2 separate regions of the Homo sapiens genome follow, and region 2 is linked to region 1. The links are contacts of gene promoters, found by promoter capture Hi-C in human tissues and cell types (Jung and others, 2019). All regions are on one chromosome and are shown on one strand. Each heading gives the region's core, a stretch centred on a gene start or on the middle of the fragment in contact. The rest is flanking DNA. Distances are from core to core; before and after follow the strand shown. Region 1 holds the start of SPACA4 (sperm acrosome associated 4). Region 2 holds the start of ADM5 (adrenomedullin 5 (putative)).

Evidence for each region. The method cuts DNA at HindIII sites, captures the fragments that hold promoters and counts their contacts. A contact is called where the count stands out against the background at its distance.
Region 2: the fragment with the promoter of ADM5 here is called in contact with the fragment with the promoter of SPACA4 in region 1 in 1 of the 25 tissues and cell types used here (aorta).

The regions. Positions count from the first base shown.
Region 1 is chr19:48,604,513-48,609,308 of GRCh38, forward strand. It overlaps SPACA4 (sperm acrosome associated 4), which reads left to right and starts at 2,230. Exons shown (of 1, transcript NM_133498.3): 1 at 2,230-3,202. The coding sequence starts at 2,467. The coding sequence ends at 2,841. All of the region lies in intron 5 of FAM83E (family with sequence similarity 83 member E), which reads right to left. The HindIII fragment of the contact is 21,490 bases long and covers 1-4,796 here.
Region 2 is chr19:49,686,510-49,690,891 of GRCh38, forward strand. ADM5 (adrenomedullin 5 (putative)) reads left to right here and starts at 3,085. Exons shown (of 2, transcript NM_001101340.2): 1 at 3,085-3,402; 2 at 3,597-4,066. The coding sequence starts at 3,329. The coding sequence ends at 3,984. PRMT1 (protein arginine methyltransferase 1) reads left to right here. Exons shown (of 11, transcript NM_001536.6): 10 at 96-217; 11 at 1,653-1,938. The coding sequence ends at 1,736. It also overlaps a transcript of CPT1C not described here. RefSeq lists enhancers at 684-1,425, 1,426-2,166 and a silencer at 3,475-3,544. The HindIII fragment of the contact is 11,781 bases long and covers 1,775-4,382 here.

The sequences.
Region 1 (4,796 bases), core at 980-3,479:
GTAGAGATGGGGTTTCACCACATTGGCCAGGCTGGTCTCGAACCCCTGACCTCAGGTGATCCACCCGCCTCGGCCTCCCAAAGTGCTGGGATTACAGGTGTGAGCCACCCGTGCCCGGCTGAGCCTGGGAAATTGAGGCTGCAGTGAGCCGTGATAATACCACTGCATTCCAGCCTGGGCAGCAAAGCAAGACCCTGTCCCCCTCGCCCCCCTCCCAAAAAAAAAAAAGCCAGATGCGGTGGCTCACTCCTGTAATCCCAGCACTTTGGGAGGCTGAGGCGGGCAGATCATGAGGTCAGGAGTTTGAGATCAGCCTGACCAACATGGTGAAACCCCATCTCTACTAAAAATACAGAAATTAGCTGGGTATGGTGGCACATGCCTGTAATTCCAGCTACTCAGGAGGCTGAGGCAGGAGAATTGCTTGAACCCGGGAGGTGGAGGTTGCAGTGAGCTGAAATCACACCACTGCACTCCAACCTGGGCGACAGAGCGAGACTCTGACTCAAAAAAAAAAAAAAAAAAAAAAAACTTATCTGGAATCAGACTGGAGTTTAAACCCAGGCTCTGCCTGGTCCCCACTTAGGAACACCTCAATGCCTCAGTTTTCCCCTTTGGAAAGAGACGGAATTCACTTCCGGACACTAACAGGGATTGTTTTAAGACCCAGCTGCTTCCTAGAATGACTGCCATTTAGTCAGTCCTGGCTGTGCACCAAGCTCTCCACGTTGCTGCTCCCTGCAGTGCTCATCTGCAATCTGGAGCAAAAACCTAGGAAGGCCGTGTGCAGTGGCTCATGCCTGTAATCCCAGCACTTTGGGAGGCCGAGGCAGGAGGATCACTTGAGGCTAGGAGTTTGAGACCAGCCTGGGCAACATAGCAAGACCCCATCTCTATAAAAAATTTTACAAAATTAGCCGGGCATGGTGGTGCACGCCTATAGTCCCAGCTACTCTGGAGGCTCAGGGAGGAGAATCACTTGAGCCTGGGAAGTTGAGGCTGCAGTGAGCCAAGATCGCGCCACTGCACTCCAGTCTAGGCAACAGAGCAAGATCCTATTTTTTTTTTTTTTTGAGATGGAGTCTTGCTCTATTGCCTAGGCTCAAGTGCAGTGGCACAATATTGGCTCACTGCAACCTCCACCTCCCAGGTTCAAGCCTCCCAAGTAGCTGGGATTACAGGTGCACACCACCATGCCCAGCAAATTTTTGTATTTTTAGTAGAGATGGGGTTTTACCACGTTGGCCATGCTGGTCTTGAACTCCTGAGCTCAGGTGATCCACCCGCCTCGGCCTCCCAAAGTGCTGGGATTACAGGCGTGAGCCACTGCGCCCGGCCAATTTTTTAAAATAAAAAATAAAATTAAGAAATAAATACAACATAGGAATATTCAAATGACTGAATTTGAATCAAGCCCCCTGCACGTAGCTGGCCCTGAGAGCCTGTGAGCTGTGGGGGCCGGTGCCCTAACACTTCCTGTCATCACAGTAGTTGTTATTGAAAGCACCAAGTGCCAGGCGTGGTGTGGTGGCTCACGTCTGTAATCCCAGCACTTTGGGAGGTCGAGGCGGGCAGATCACTTGAGCTCAAGAGTTCGCAACCAGCCTGGCCTACATGGTGAAACCCTGTCTCTACTAAAAATACAAAAATTAGCCAGATGTGGTTGCATGCGCCTGCAGTCCCAGCCACTCGGGAGGCTGAGTTACGAGAATCGCTTGAAGCTGGGAAGCAGAAGCTGCAGTGAGCTGAGATCACGCCACTGCACTCCAGCCTGGGTGACAGAGTGAGAGACTCCGTCTCAAAAAAATAAAAGCAAGCAAGCACTGAGCATGAATCCTGGCACACAGCAAGTGCTCAGTTAATACACCCTCTTCTTTCCCAGCCTCTTTGGAATTCAATGAACCTGGCTCTCATCCTGGCTCGGGGACCCTGGATACATCACTTTCCCCAGCCTTAGTTTACCCATCTGGAATATGGGGTCACTATGGGAGGTGTGAGGCTGAAGTCAAGCCCTTGGCGGGTGTACAGCACAGAGAATGCGGACAAGCTTGTGGCCAGCGTCCTCTGGGTTCAGGGCGTCTTCACCTTGGCAGGGATGGCAGAGCCCTCTTGCGCCCCGGCAGGTCGGCGGGGCAGGCCACCCCTTGGATTGTGACACCCACTCCTCTCACCTATGACCTCATCCCCAGAGCGGCCAGTGGGAACCCTGAGGGATCTGTGAGATCACTCATTCCATTCACAGACTCTTGTTGGGCAGCAGCCACCCGCTCACCTCCATCCCCAGGACTTAGAGGGACGCAGGGCGTTGGGAACAGAGGACACTCCAGGCGCTGACCCTGGGAGGCCAGGACCAGGGCCAAAGTCCCGTGGGCAAGAGGAGTCCTCAGAGGTCCTTCATTCAGCGGTTCCGGGAGGTCTGGGAAGCCCACGGCCTGGCTGGGGCAGGGTCAACGCCGCCAGGCCGCCATGGTCCTGTGCTGGCTGCTGCTTCTGGTGATGGCTCTGCCCCCAGGCACGACGGGCGTCAAGGACTGCGTCTTCTGTGAGCTCACCGACTCCATGCAGTGTCCTGGTACCTACATGCACTGTGGCGATGACGAGGACTGCTTCACAGGCCACGGGGTCGCCCCGGGCACTGGTCCGGTCATCAACAAAGGCTGCCTGCGAGCCACCAGCTGCGGCCTTGAGGAACCCGTCAGCTACAGGGGCGTCACCTACAGCCTCACCACCAACTGCTGCACCGGCCGCCTGTGTAACAGAGCCCCGAGCAGCCAGACAGTGGGGGCCACCACCAGCCTGGCACTGGGGCTGGGTATGCTGCTTCCTCCACGTTTGCTGTGACCAACAGGGAGGACAGGGCCTGGGACTGTTCTCCCAGATCCGCCACTCCCCATGTCCCCATGTCCTTCCCCCACTAAATGGCCAGAGAGGCCCTGGACAACCTCTTGCGGCCCTGGCTTCATCCCTTCTAAGGCTGTCCACCAGGAGCCCGGTGCTAGGGGAAGCATCCCCAGGCCTGACTGAGCGGCAGGGGAGCACGGCCCGTGGGTTTGATTGTATTACTCTGTTCCACTGGTTCTAAGACGCAGAGCTTCTCACATCTCAATCAGGATGCTTCTCTCCATTGGTAGCACTTTAGAGTCCATGAAATATGGTAAAAAATATATATATATCATAATAAATGACAGCTGATGTTCATGGAGCATTCTTTGTTTTCTTTTCTTTTTCTTTTCCTTTTTTTTTTTTTCTTTTTGTAGAGATAAGGTCCAGCTATGTTGCCCAGGGTGGTCTCGGATTCTTGGGCTCAAGTGATCCTCCCACCTCAGCCTCCCAAAGTGCTGGGATTACAGGTATGAGCCACGGCACCTGGCCAAGCCTGTCTTACGTTACGTGCCACTGAATCCTCACACCAAGCTGGGAAGGTAAACACTCTTTCAAACATTTCAAACATCCTGGTCTCAACTCCAATCATTCTCAAAGTGTGGTCCCTGGACCAGAAACAGCAGCAGCAGCAAGTGGGAACTTCCTGAAAATGCAGATTCTCAGGTCCTGTTCCAGGCACGATGAATGGCAGTGGGGTCCAAAAGCTGTGTATTGTTCTCTCTTTTTCTTTTTGAAACAGGGTTTTGCTCTGCTGCCCAGGCTGGAGTGCAGTGGTGCAATCTTGGCTCATTGCAGCCTCTACCTCCTGGGCTCAAGCAATCCTCCCACCTCAGCCTCCTGAGTAGCTGGGACTAGAAGCATGCTCCATCATGTCTAATTTTTATTTTTTTAAATTTTTGTAGAGATGGGGTCCTGCTATGTTGCCCAGGCTGGTCTTGAAGTCCTGGGCTCAAGCGATCCTCCTGCCTCAGCCTCCCAAAGTGCTGGGACTACAGACATGAACCACCACGCCTGGCCTTTTTCCGTTTTCTTTTTCTTTTCCTTTTTTTTTTTTTTTTTTATTTTTTGAGACAGAGTCTCGCTCGGTCACCCAGGCTTTAGTGCAGTGGCGCGATCTTGGCTCACTGCAACCTCCACCTCCCAGGTTCTAGCGATTCTCCTGCCTCAGCCTCCCGAGTAGCTGGGACTAGAGATGCATTCCACCAGGCCCGGCTGATTTTTTGTATTTTTAGTAGAGACAGGGTTTCCCCATGTTAATCAGGCTGGTCTGAAACTCCTGACCTCGGGTGATCCACCTGCCTCGGCCTCCCAAAGTGCTGGGATTACAGGTGTGAGCCACCACGCCCAGCCCAAAAGCTGTGTTTTAACAAGCGCTCCCAGGGATTCTGGTGCATGCACAGGGTTGAAAGCCACTGTTCCTGAGCAGTGTTCTCAGCTGGGCACCTGTGCTCCCCAGTGGGCATCTGCGCTGTCTGGAGAGGTTTTCGGTTCTCTAATTGGCAGGGAAAGTCGGGGGTATGGGGCGTGTGATGCTACTGACCTCTGCTGGGTGGAGGCTGAAGATGCCGAGGAGCCTCCCACAATGCACCCAACAGCTCCTAAAACAAAGACTTACCCAGCCCGAGCGTGGGTGCCACCCCTGTTGAGGGACCTGGTTCTAGAGGCTCTAACCCTATCAGCCCATGACATAGAGGGGGAAACTGAGGCACAGAGAGGTGAAGTAAGTTGCCTGAAGTCACACAACGAGGAACTGAGAGAGCTAGAATTTGAATCCAGGCCGTCTGGTCCCAGAGGCCACACCCCTCTCCTCCCTAGCTGTGCTGTGACCCTGTGAGGTAGGTGCTGTTATTATTTGCAGTTTCTTTCTTTCTTTTTTTTTTTTTTTTTTTTTTGCTTTTTTGAGATGGAGTCTT
Region 2 (4,382 bases), core at 1,835-4,334, 1.1 Mb after region 1:
GCTGTCATGGGGGTGGGCATTCCGACAGAGGGAACGCAAGGGTGGGGTTGGGGGGGGCAGCAGGCCGAGGCCGGCTGACCCGCCCGCGCCCCCAGGCCCCGAGTCCCCGTACACGCACTGGAAGCAGACGGTGTTCTACATGGAGGACTACCTGACCGTGAAGACGGGCGAGGAGATCTTCGGCACCATCGGCATGCGGCCCAACGCCAAGAACAACGTGAGGCTCCGGGCAGCTGGGTGGGAGGGTGGCAGCTAGGGCGGGGAGTGTAGATTGGGGGGGGAGTGGTGGGGGAGGAATGGTGGCAGCGGGGGTAGGGGATGGGGGCAGCCGGGGTGGGGGATGGGGGCAGCTGGCGGGGGCGAGCACCTCTGCCTATTCCCGGGTCCCCAAGCCCCTCAGCCCCATGCCTGTCTACACAGCAGGATTGCTTGAGCATTCACCGGAAGTTATGGGCCTGGGGACCCAGGCTGAAACCCTGCCCTCCTGGTGCTTCCACTCTAGACAAGGGGGTCAGTGACATGGTGATGCCAGTTGGAGGTGACCTCTGTCAGGCTGGGAGCAGGGCAGACAGGTGTTGGTGTAGGTGGGCTCCAGGGCAAGAGGCAGCCCCCAGTAGAGTGCACGGGGTTTTCTAGCCCAGCTGGGAGGCATGAGAGGAGAAAGGCAGCTTTTTGTTTTCTGCTCCCCTTTCTTTTTCCTCCTGAGCACTTGGCAGGAGCTGCCATCACCTGAGATCAGGGGGCTTCCGGGGGAGCTGGGGGGGCTTCTCGGAGACAGGGTCTGGGCAGAGATCCAGTGTGGTGGGTCTGAGCAGGCAGGAGGATGGAAGGCTTGGAGCCTGGAGTCGCCGGGAGTGGTCTGGGTTGGAAAAGTGGGTCCCGGCCGATGGGTGCGAGGGTGGGTGGCACTCAGGGTAGTCATGGAATGTGGACCCTGGGACACCCACGAGCCTGTGACAGCAGCAGTTGTCAACTGGGCAGTTTTACTGCCCCCTCCGCTCCCCGCCCCCCCCCAGGACGTTTGCCACCGTCTGTGGAAACATTTGTGGTTGTCACTCCGGAGAAGGGGTGGTCCTGGCATCTGGTAGGTAGGGGCCAGGGGGCTGGTAAATGTCCTGCAGCCACAGGACCACCCCCTACAAAGACTCATGCAGCCCCCGGGACCACGGCACTAGCTGGGAAACGGATACTGGAGAGGGAGGAGGAGTCCTCGGGCGTTGGTGACTTTGTCTCATCTTCATGTGCTGGAGGGTATGGGGGGAGGAGAGGAAGTGGAGACAGCAGGCTGGACCATTGTGTTTCACTGGAACGTTTGCCTGAGGAGGAAGTGGGCTTGGGAGAGGTTTTCTTTTTTATGAAAGAAGCAATCACTGCATTGCTGATGGGAATCATCCTGATGGAGAAATCCAAGGGCAAGGGACAGCAGCTGGGCTCTACTCCTGAGTGAGTCTAGTGGGCTTGGGGGTGTCCATGTGGTGCTGTCCCTTGGCAGGGTCAGGGCAGCTGCTAGGGTGGGACCAGCAGTTGGGGTCTGCAGCGTGGAGATGGGCAGGAAGCTGGAGCCCGGCTCATCGTCGCATAGCCTGCCTGCACCCGCCCCCCGCCACCACCTCCTGGTGGGTTCCGCCCTCATGCCCCACCTCTCCCTGCAGCGGGACCTGGACTTCACCATCGACCTGGACTTCAAGGGCCAGCTGTGCGAGCTGTCCTGCTCCACCGACTACCGGATGCGCTGAGGCCCGGCTCTCCCGCCCTGCACGAGCCCAGGGGCTGAGCGTTCCTAGGCGGTTTCGGGGCTCCCCCTTCCTCTCCCTCCCTCCCGCAGAAGGGGGTTTTAGGGGCCTGGGCTGGGGGGATGGGGAGGGCACATCGTGACTGTGTTTTTCATAACTTATGTTTTTATATGGTTGCATTTACGCCAATAAATCCTCAGCTGGGGTCTGGCTTTGTTTCCTGGGGGCAAAGGAGGTTTGGGGTTCCTTTCGCAGGTACTGCAGTGCCAGCCTCAGCAGTGGGGGGACCGGCCTTGGCACCTGCTGGTGGCTGCCATTCTGTGGATCTGCGTCTCCCGTCCCCCGTCTCTAGGCCTCTTGCTCCCCTTCCTTGGTTCCTTCTCGGGGTCCCTGTCCTCCACAGCTGTCTCTCAGGGTCTTTGTCCAACTCTTTTCATCCCTCTCCTGGGTCTGCGCCCCTCCCCTCTGCGGTACCCGTGTCCTGCCTAGTAGGGGATGGGGGTGGCTTTCCAGCACAGCCAGCCCTCAAGTTTCCCAGAACAGTCTCCCCACCTCCCCCCAACACTCGACATTGTTCCTCTCTGGCTGTTTTTTCCTGTTCGGGTCCCTTCAAGGCCCAACTGTGCCCAGCCCTCTGCAGCTGGGGACACTGAGTGGGTTGGGGGTGTATGTTTGCAAGGATAGAATTTCTCATGGGGGAGTGGCCCTGCTTCCTCCCCTAGAATGGCTTGGGGCTTAGGGCTGGGGACTTGCCCTCCATGGAGGTCAGTGGGAGTTGCAGCTGTAAGGTGGCAGGGCCTACCCATCTTACAGAGGTGAAGACGAGGTCCCTCTGCCTCTGCTGCAGACATGGCGTCTGCACCCACCCTTCCACCCTCAGGGCCTGGCCACGGGGTCCTGGGTCCCCCACAATACTGTGCACTCGACCTGGTTGACCCAGGACACCCTCCTCGTTGAACAGCCCTGGCTACACCTGCTTCAGTGCAACTGGAGCCCTCACCGGCGAGTGCCTGACACCTCGGCCTTTTCTCTTCCGGAGGGGCGCTCCTCAGTGTGTTTGGGGTCTCCCTCGCTCCACGCCCTCCAGGGGGCCGCATGTGCACTTGCCCTGCATTGCCTGGCCCCCGAGGTTCCAGGGTCCCAACTGTCTACTAACCGGCTTCCCGACAGGGTGAGGGTGAGGTCGCATCTACAACCAGAGCCAGCGCTTCCCCGCCGCCACCCCTTTTCTTGGAATCCCGCTGCTTAGCTACCTGCGGGTGTCATTGGCCCCGCCCCATTTCCCCACGCTTTGAAGGGGGCGAGTCTCCACAGACCTCCTAGGGGGATAGACAGCAGCTGGTGTGACCCCACACACCCAGTGAGGTCTCTGGAGCCGCGGTGCGGGAAGCGGGGACCCGGGTTTGAATCCTGCCCCTCTGGTGTGGTGCGGCCTCTTCCCACAGACTTTTGGCCTCAGTGTTCCCCGCCTGGGAAGTGGGGACTGGCCCTGGTACCTGGCTCCAGAGCTGCACCCAGAGGCGATCAGCCCGGTGCGGGAACGGGGCGGGGTGGCCGCAACTACGGGCCACGGATCCTGACCCGCCCTGCCCACGATGACTATCCACATCCTCATCCTGCTGTTGCTCCTCGCCTTCTCCGCCCAAGGGGACCTGGACACTGCAGCCAGGTGAGAAACCCGGGTGGCAGCAGGGACAGGGCGGGAGGGAGACCGTAAAGGGCGAGCGCCCTCTCCCGGCCGCGGAACGGGCAGGTGATCTGTAAGCCTCCCCGCTGGTCTTGGAGTGCTTGGGTGCCCACCTCCATCACGCTCCATCTCTCAATTCGGTTTGAACCCGGTTTTCTCCCACGCTCCCTCTCCAGGCGAGGCCAGCACCAGGTCCCCCAGCACCGCGGGCACGTCTGCTACCTGGGCGTATGCCGGACCCACCGCCTGGCGGAGATCATATACTGGATTCGCTGTCTCCACCAAGGAGCCCTCGGGGAAGGCCAGCCACGAGCCCCAGGACCCCTACAGCTATGGGCGCCGCCGGTGGCGCGAGGCGGAAGCCCGGCTCGGTTCCCAGGATTCCGGCCTGCAGCGAGGGGGCTAGCGCAGTGCCCAGCTCGCTGGGTGACCTCGGGCACGGCTCGTCCCCTCCTCGGCTTCAGTTTGCCTATCTGTATGTTGGAGCTTCTACTCCACATTTCTTCTCCCCTAACTCCAGCCCCTGAAACCGTCTTCCCCAGTCCCTCCCCGGGCTGCGACTAGGTTGGACCTAGAAGCACACGGGACCAGGCTGGGCGAAGAACACTGACGCCCAGAGCCGAATAAACAAGAGTTCCGTGTTTCAGTCTCTGCTTCTCTGTACCTATTTCGACCTCTCAGTCGAGGCTGGGTCTCTAATATACCTTTCTCTATTAGCCATGCTGCTTCTCCCTCACGGAAGTCCCACTGTCTACCTTGAATCCAACCCGCTGTGGCGCCTTTCTTGCCAACTCAATCCATGCACCTTCCGTGGGTGGTTTTGGCGGGCCGTCCTGACCCCCAAACATCCCTCCTCCCTCCCTGGCGTGAAAGGGCTGAGATTTGCTCCGGCACCCTACGCGCCTGACGTTATAATGCACCTGGGGTGGGCTGCGACCTCCCAGCTGAGCCTTGTTCCTCGA